Regions from separate parts of the Homo sapiens genome. Here regions 2 and 3 are each linked to region 1. Evidence: promoter capture Hi-C in 16 types of primary human blood cells and fetal thymus (Javierre and others, 2016). All regions are on one chromosome and are shown on one strand. The core of a region is centred on a gene start or on the middle of the fragment in contact, and the rest is flanking DNA. Distances in the headings are between cores, read along the strand shown. Region 1 holds the start of CYP4V2 (cytochrome P450 family 4 subfamily V member 2). Region 2 overlaps CDKN2AIP (CDKN2A interacting protein). Region 3 has its middle 13 kb from the start of CDKN2AIP.

What was found. The method cuts DNA at HindIII sites, captures the fragments that hold promoters and counts their contacts. A CHiCAGO score of 5 or more calls a contact.
Region 2: a contact is called between a fragment that was not itself captured here and the fragment with the promoter of CYP4V2 in region 1, in 1 of 17 cell types (non-activated CD4 T cells). The highest score is 5.5, in non-activated CD4 T cells.
Region 3: a contact is called between a fragment that was not itself captured here and the fragment with the promoter of CYP4V2 in region 1, in 1 of 17 cell types (activated CD4 T cells). The highest score is 5.7, in activated CD4 T cells.

The regions. Positions count from the first base shown.
Region 1 is chr4:186,190,194-186,193,029 of GRCh38, reverse strand. It overlaps CYP4V2 (cytochrome P450 family 4 subfamily V member 2), which reads right to left and starts at 1,463. Exons shown (of 11, transcript NM_207352.4): 1 at 993-1,463. The coding sequence starts at 1,206. FLJ38576 (a long non-coding RNA gene) reads left to right here and starts at 1,540. Exons shown (of 1, transcript NR_046264.1): 1 at 1,540-2,836. RefSeq lists a silencer at 1,137-1,666. The HindIII fragment of the contact is 5,614 bases long and covers 102-2,836 here.
Region 2 is chr4:183,449,013-183,451,898 of GRCh38, reverse strand. It overlaps CDKN2AIP (CDKN2A interacting protein), which reads right to left. Exons shown (of 3, transcript NM_017632.4): 3 at 2,835-2,886. Among named protein-coding and RNA genes, the nearest start is that of CDKN2AIP, 5.8 kb to the right of the region's middle. The HindIII fragment of the contact is 4,907 bases long and covers 1-2,886 here.
Region 3 is chr4:183,430,330-183,433,314 of GRCh38, reverse strand. No RefSeq gene overlaps it. Among named protein-coding and RNA genes, the nearest start is that of CDKN2AIP, 13 kb to the left of the region's middle. RefSeq lists enhancers at 1,809-2,559, 2,560-2,985. The HindIII fragment of the contact is 2,225 bases long and covers 561-2,785 here.

The sequences.
Region 1 (2,836 bases), core at 214-2,713:
TGGTAAACACTCTTCCATGAGGCCTCATCTTGTGAAGTTGAAATTACAGCATTATTTTTATTAGAGAAAACAAGTGAAAATGAGAAAAAGTCCTTCAAGCTTTGGAGTTAGTTAATGCTCAGCCTGTAAAACGATTACTAACAAATAATCCCAGAGGAAACTGGGTTCTGGTCTGGGCCAATTTTAAAATATGCCATTTTGGGCAAATCTTCTCATTTCTGGGTACCTCAACGTAATCCCTGATGAAAATAAAACTCTGAGATCGAGTTCGCCCTCCCTGACAGGGAGTTGTAAATACCAGGTACTTTTGAGAGCTTTCTAACTTAACGTGATTTTTTTCCATCAATAAAATGTCCATCTCTGTTTTAAAACATGATTTTAATTAAAAAATTCACTCTTTAATAAACAAGGCGTTTGACACCCTCCAAAGAAGTCTGCCTGAAGGCCCTGCCGTCTCTTAATTGTTATTATGTAACATCCTTTAAAGGGCTAAAGTATGAAGGTCAAGCGGGAACTGAAGCAGCAGTCAAGTCTTGTGATGCCGGGAGGAAGCGTCCAGTGAATCTCTAGTCTCTTATTTTCCAAAGTGGCAGCGAGAGGAGGGCGGCTCTGGGCGTTAAGGTGTTGGCCAGTTTAAAACCGCTCTGTGCTCCCAGGGAGCTTCTGTTCCTAAGGCTTCCCAAGCCAAGGCAGGAGGAAACGGCAGGGCTTTGAGAGCTGAGCAGCGGTGAGGTGGGAAAAGACCGAGGGCAGGGGTTTGGAAATACCGCATCCTGTGCTACACACAAAGAAAATGCTCACTTTGGGATGGGGCACTAGCAGTGTCGGCGGGTGCCAAGGGGCAACGACTAGAACTGGGAGTGCATTCTCCACAGGGTGACAGGCTCCTCTCTCCTGCGGCCAGCGCCACAAGCAGCGGGTTCCTGGCTGATCGGAGGGTGGGAACGGGGCTGCGGACCCCGTTGCGCTCCAGGAGGAGCGCCGGCCCTTACCTCGCCCGTCCGGCTTCATCAGCAGCGCGTGGCCCACCAGTGGGTAGGCGCGGGCCACCGTGGGGATGGGCCGCATCTGCTGCCATTTCCGCGCGTAGCTCGCCACCCTCTGCAGCAGGCTCAGGACCAGACTGGCGCCGGCCAGGGAAAGGGCACTCGCCGCGCCCCACAGCAGCAGCTTCTGCCACACGAGCCCCAGCCAGAGCCCCGCCATCGCCCCGGCTGGCGGCCGCGGGGTGCACTCCGGGAAAGTGCGGGCCCGCGGGGGCGTGGTGCGAGGCGGTGCCGGCCGCACACCGCCCACTTCCCCGCGCGGACCTGGCGCGCTCCCCGCTGCGGGGTCGCCCGGTCCCCGGAACGACGTTTCCCGCCCGGGCGGCGGCCAGAGAGGGCGCCACGGGGCTGTTCCTGCGCCCGGCCCGGCCTACGCAGCACCGCGGCCTCCACGCCCCAGCCGAAAGCGAAAGACCGGAAAACGGTTTCCGGGCCCCAGGGCGTAGTGATTGCACTGGAGGCCCGGAGGCTGCGCCGGGAGGAGGCCGGCGACACTTCCGGCCGCCTCCGGATGCGGGGTCAGGGGCGTCGGAAAGGTCACCGCGGCAGCCCGGCGCGCCCCAGCGGGGCTGTTCTGAGGGTGCTGCGAGGTTGCTCTACGTGCGGGATTCCGCGGGCGGGCAGCCTGCTCTGGAGAGGAAAGGAAGGCGCATCCGGCTCGGAGCCCAGCTCTGCTGCGCATCGCTCGCTCCCTGCGCAACTTGCAGCCCCGGGAGGCGGGGCGCGTCCTGGCTCCCGCGGGGTCACATGGAGCAGCGGGCGCTGTAATCCAGGGAGGCTTTGGGGACACGTTAGGGAAGTCAGCTACCCGTGTGTGTCCGCTGGCCCACTGGGACACTGGGAGCTCAATGAGGTGGTTATGAGCCAGGTATTTTCCAAAATACGCACCAGGCACCAGACCGAGGAAGCCGGAGCCCCGGAGAGCACGCAGGGGCGGGTGGGAGAGGAAGGCGGGCGAGGCTGCTCAGCGGGTGCCGGGAGACCGCAGCCGCGGGGTACTCGCAGAAGAGCCAAGACCTGCCACCCAGCCCGGGAAGGGAGGGAAGGGCCGCGAGAGGGTGCCCCATTTCAGCCTGGGGAGACGCGTGTGCTGGCCGCCAGTCTCTCTTCCCGGCAGAGGGCCCCAGTGCTGACCCCAGCCCCTTTTCCACGCTCGATGCTTCTTACAAAGTGGCCGGGCGAGGAGTGTCGCTCCCCGAGAGGCCAGGCCCTTCCTAAACACTAAAGTGCCAGGAAGATGAAACTGAATGTCCTGGATGCCCGCTTTGCTTAATTACTAATTACGTTCGTTCACTCGAAGCCACTGCATAAGTTGGCCACAGCCACCTGCAGGGCCTCTTTAGTGCAGAGAAAAACATGCCTAAGGCTTTTCTCCATTTGAATTTGTTTTAAGTCATCTGCATGGGCTGACGTGAAATAGCAAGTGAACAAAACAAGTTGCAGAACGGAGTGTGTAAAGTAATGCCTTCTTTTGGAGAAAAGGTTTCTTTCTCTACGGCTCCACTAATGTCTGCAAGTAAAAATACTGATCAGCTCTATGGAGTGGGAATGAAGATGGGGAACTTACGCTTTTTATTTCATTCACGTCTACATTGTTTAATCACTTTAACACTTTAAAAAATAAATATGTTCACTTAGTATCTTTAAGCAAGTCTCATGGGCTTTAGTTTCCTCCTCTCTAAAGGGTTGAGGCTGAGCTATAATAAGGTTAATTACAGCTATAAAAGTAAACAATTTGTCTACATACTGGGGATTCTAAAATAGGGGGAGGAAGGAAGGGGAGTAATGGT
Region 2 (2,886 bases), core at 348-2,847, 2.7 Mb after region 1:
AAAAAAAGAAAAAGAAATTAAGAACCAAACGTATAATTCAGTTGTAGGGTGTGGCCACCCTCCTTTGACCAAAGTAGTTCTCTGTTTTACATACACAATGCCCCCATTTTTCTTTGAAGAAATATGGCTAAAGTTTGAAAACCACTGATGACATATTCAGAACTTGGGTTTTATCATTTTTAAGTGTCTAAGCCCTGGTACACTGAAAACAGTATAAGGAAATCACTAGATGATTCCCTCCCAAATCACCTTTTTGTACATTTGTCTCTAGCTTCCAAGTTATATACATTGCACATGATAGTCCCACTTCAGTAAAATGGTAGTCTTTAGTGTATTTACTACTTATATTGTTTAGTTTGGTTGCTTCCTAAGACCTCCAAGGATTCTGATTCTATTCAATAAAGTTTCAAATTCACAAAGTATTTCTGATTGCTTCTTAAGTACTGGCATATGTAATCTCTAGTTTTTACTCAAAATGTCCTGTATCCAACCCTTTGTGTTTAGTATTACTTTTTTTTTTTTTTTGACACGGAGTCTCACTCTGTCACCCAGGCTGGAGTGCAGTGGCACAATCATAGCTCACTGCAACCTCCACCTCCCAGGTTCAAGCGATTCTCCTATCTCAGCCTCCCAAGTAGCTGGGGTGACAGGCACGCACCACCACGCCCAGCTAATGTTGTAGTTTTATAAGATAAAGTTTCACCATTTTGGCCAGGCTGGTCTCAAACTCCTGACTTCAGGTGATCCGCCTGCCTTGGCCTCCCAAAGTGCTGGCATTACAGTTGTGGGCCACCATGCCCAACCTAGCATTACTTTTCTTTTTTCCCTTCAAAGTTAAAAGTCCATTTAGTTTGGGGCCTTGTCTACTCTTTTTCTTGCTAGATGAATAGCAAAGGAACAGAAAAAGAACTTTAAAAACTAATAATTTTCAGATAATGACTTTTAAAGGAGAAAAATCGGCTGGGCACAGTGGCTCACGCCTGTAATCCCAGCAATTTGGGAGGCTGAGGCAGGTGGATCACAAGATCAGGAGTTCGAGACCAACCTGACCAACATGGTGAAACCCCGTCTCTACTAAAAATACAAAAAAATTAGCTGGGTGTAGTGATGCACGCCTGTAATCCCAGCTACTCAGGAGGCTGAGGCAGGAGAATTGCTTGACCCCAAGAGGCCGAGGTTGCAGTGAGCCGAGATCACGCCACTGCACTCCAGCCTGGGTGACAGAGCAAGACTCCCTCTGTCTCAAAAAAAAAACAAACAAAAAAACAAAACAAAAACAAAAGGAGGAAAATCGAGAGATATTAAAATTAAAGTTGGTAGTAAGAAATGGTTCTAACTGGATGGCAACTAAGCTGTGTGCAGGGATGCCAAAGAAATATGATTGATATTTTTCTTGGGGAGGAATAGTTGGGCAATAAATGGCTTAACCCTTCATTCAACTTGAACATTTTGTTCTAGTAGAAAGTGAAATAGTTTATTCATCAATCACAGAAAATATTATTTAAAAATCATGCAGGAATGGATAACCAATGTCTAGAAAGTAGGTCAATATAGGACTTCAGCACAATTTTTGAGGACAAAGTCCACAAAGTAGTAACACAATACCTGTAGGACTGACCTGATTCCCAATTGCGGCTTGTTTTTGTTACTTTCTCACTGCTGTTACTCAAAAATCTAAACAGCAAGTAGAAATTTGTACCAAGAAAAGCTGCACTTGGCAGGGAAAACATAATTCAAATTGGAGCAGGCTCCTGATAATACATATCAAAGGCCTTAAAGTTACACATATCCCTATGACAATTATCCTAGCCAATGACAGCAGTGACAGGCTCCAAGAATTTAGGTCAAAAACTCATGACAGTATCATTCTTACAAGTCAACTAATTTTACCATTAAAAAAAAAATCTCATTCTAACATCAAGAAAAATCTTGATGTCTCAGGAAATCGTCTCCCCTCACTCATCTGAAAAAAGCAGTATATCCCATCTTGGTAGCCGACTTTATTCACTCAACTTGATTATACACTATTTTAGGCAGGTGTGTTTGGTTTTTTGGTTTTGGGGGGTTTTTTGTGCAGATTTCTTTTGTGTGTGTATGGTCTTTTTACAAAGTTCAACTGCATCCATATGGGATGATTCACTAGTTGAGGATATTCAAGATATGCAAGTATTAGAAGCATTAATAATAGAAGAGCCTCTGAAGTGACTCATTTCAAGGAGGCTTTAGAAAGATGCGGTCACTTAATCTGGTAAAAAATCACGTTCTGGGAGGGATTTTCAGAAATTTCAGCATATAGAGAAGTGACAAGGATAATAAGCAGTACAACATACTTGAGCTTGGGTTTTGAAATCAGATATGGGCTTGAATTATCTGACCGAATTACTCTGTGTAAGTTTCTCCATCTGAAAAGTAGGCCAAATGAGAAGAGCTCCTTGTAAGAGGAATAAGAATATATAAGTGAACCATGGGATATCTGCACCATGCCGGGCACTTTGAATGTATCATCTCATCTAACTGCCATGCTCTATGAGACAGCTATTAGTCCTATTTCACAGACGAAGTAAGGTTAAAAGGTTAAATTCCCAGAGGTTACATGTCTAGTAAGAGACAGCCAAGATTCACTCTCAATAATAGAATTCTAAAATATGCATTTCTCTTAAACCAGGATTCTTTAAATGTTATTAACCAAGAGCATTTTTCTAGGTTTTTAAATAGGATTATCATAAATGTACACTAAACAACTTCCTCCACATCAAAAGTCACTATAAAACATTCTCAATAACCTTCATAGTAACTTGAAACAAGCCAATTTAGGAAATTACCAAACCACCTAATTGGATATATTATATAAATTTATTTGTTCGTTGTAATTTTTTGCTTTTCTGA
Region 3 (2,985 bases), core at 424-2,923, 2.8 Mb after region 1:
CCAGTACACCCTCCGCAGCCACTGGCCCGGGTGCTAAGCCCCTCACTGCCCGGGCCGGCAGGGCCAAGCCCACGCCCACCCGGAACTCCAGGTGGCCCGCAAGCGCCACGCGCAGCCCCGGTTCCCGCTGGCACCTCTCCCTCCACACCTCCCTGCAAGCTGAGGGAGAGGGCTCTGGCCTTGGCCAGCCCAGAAAGGGGCTCCCACAGTGCAGCGGTGGGCTGAAGGGCTCCTCAAGTGCTGCCAAAGTGGGAGTCCAGGCAGAGGAGGCGCCGAGAGCAAGCGAGGGCTCTGAGGACTGCCAGCACGCTGTCACCTCTCAATTGGTTGTCTTTCAAGACAGAGATCATATATGCTTGAGTTACTGGTTCAGAGAGAGGAGATGTAATATACCCATTGGGGGATTGGGGGAAGAACTATTAGAAAAAAACTGAAAGTAATTCAAATCTAATTACTCAATTCTAAACATTTCAATTCTCTTATAACAGGGGTCCCCCCGCCACTACCTCCAACCCTGGGCCACACGGCAGGTGGTGAGCAGCTGGCAAGTGAGCAAAGCTTCATCTGTCTTTACGGCCACTTCCCATTGCTCGCATGACCACCTGAGCTCCACCTCCTGTCAGATCAGACAGGAGCGTTGGATTCTCACAGGAGTGAGAACCTTACTGTGAACTGTGCATGTGAGGGATCTGGGGTGTGTGCTCCTTATGAGAATCTAATGCCTGATGATCTGTCACTGTCTCCCATCACCCAGATGGGACCATCTAGTTGTAGAAAACAAACTCAGGGATCCCACTGATTCTACCTTATGGTAAGTGTATAATTATTTCATTATATATTACAATGTAATCATAATAGAAATAAAGTGCGCAACAAACATCATGTGCTTGAATCATCCTGAAACCACCCGCCGACCCCCCTTCCATGGAAAAAGTGTCTTCCATGAAACCGGTCCCTGGTGCCAAAAAAGTGGGGGACTGCTGTCTTACGACATCATAGATTCATGGAATTCTTTTATAGGCAGGTTCCTTGGGGGTAACTGAAGCTGTTTCCTCGTTTTTAGGAAATTTAGGAAAGACTAGGAAATTGAGGCTCAGAGAGGCCATTTAGCAGTGACTAACACAATTTCCAGGTCAGTATTGTTTCTACGAGCCCTGGTCTCCAGAAGAGAAAAGGCTAGTCAGGACTACCACTTGAAGTCCCCTAGTCGGATACAAAGAAAGGATCCAGGATCCAAGTTGATTTACAGTTAAACTCACTTGGGGAATTCACAATGCTTAAAAGGCAAGAAGAAAACAACGCAAGACTGTACATACCACAGTATGAAAAATCTTAACCACATAGCAGCACCTCCTTCAGAGCCACACTGGCCACTGCTGTGCGACTCCCTCCCCTGGCCTCCCCCTCACCCCGAGGTTTCAGCATGGAGACCCACGTAGGCCCATGGGGAGAGCTGTGTGGAGCTTGGGAACTGTATTTAGTCTCCTTCCTTCTGGGGCCTTTTACATTTAAAAATGCAATTTCGGCCGGCGCAGTGGCTCATGCCTATAATCACAGCACTTTGGGAGGCCAAGGTGGGCGTGTCACCTAGGTCAGCCGTTCAAGACCAGCCTGGCCAACATGGCGAAACCCCATCTCTACTAAAAATATACATATATTTTTACACACATATATATATACACACACACTCAAAAATTAGCCAGGTGCGGTGGTGCGTGCGCGTGTAATCCCAGCTACTTGGGAGGCTGAGGCAGGAGAATCACTTGAACCCGGGAGGTGGAGGTTGCAGTGAGCCGAGATGGTACCATTGCACTCCAGCCTGGGCAACTGAGTGAGGCTGTCTCAAAAAAAAAAAAAGAAAAGAAAAGAAAAAGAGAGAGAGAAATGCAATTTTATTCTTACGACTTTCTGGAAGCAAGAATGTGATTTTGAACATTCTAAAGAAAATTTTTATAAAGGAATGTGAGAAAGCAACAAGATAATGTTGGCTGCTGTGGTATTAAAATTCTTAAAAAGTAAAAGCACTGTAGAAATATAAGGTATATCATTCTACTTATTTTGTTCCAGAATAATATGCATGATATTAGGTTAGCTTTTTCCATAGGAGGCCATTTTTTTCTGGGTATGGTGATACCACTCTCGATGAAGCTGAGCATGAGCCTCAGTAGCTTCGAGTGTGAATATAACCTTTTTGTGAACTCTGTCACATTACTGAGTATAGAATCTGCTCCTGGATGTTTTAGTTTCTCCCAGGGTTAGCGAGAGACTTTCATTTCTTCTTTGTGCTTTCCTCACTCTCAGGAATCACAGGGAAGCTGTGATTGTTCTAGGCGTTAGTTCTTTATTAGTGCTCAATCTGCTTAACACTCCTCTTGTGTGCCGCCTTTGAAGTCTCAAGAAATCTCCTGCCTGGCAGGAAGTGCCAGAGGCCCAAACAGTGCAAAGGAAATCACACCCATGGCGGCCTCTCCAAAGTGCAGGCCTGGGGCTCAGTCCATTTCTCCTGGTCGTTCTCACAGTTCTGGATTCAGAAGGGAGGAGAGAGGCAGTGGGGGGCGCTATGCATTCCTAAGGGATTGCATTCGAGTCTGCTGACCAGGCCCTGAGCTCCCCTGAGGCCAGTAAACCTCTGGCCGGTAAACCCCTGCTCCTGGGGGGCTGAGAAAGCCGTCCTTCTTGGTGCAGACCCTACCCAGCCCTATGTCTTAAGAGTCCCTTCTCTCTGCTGTCCCACAGTCAAGCCAGCCCTGCTCTGCCTGCTCTGCCCTGCCCATGGAGAAAAGCTTCCAAGCCTACGAGGATCTCCTTCTCACCATGCCAGCTGTTTGACCTCAAGGGAGTTACTTAACCTTTCTGAGCCTTGCTTACTTCATCTGTAAAATGGGACAACAGTGGTGACTACCTCTTAGGATTGTTGTGAGGATAAAACGAGATAATCCAAAAACTGGCCAGGTGTTGTGGCATACGCCTGTAGTCCCAGCTACT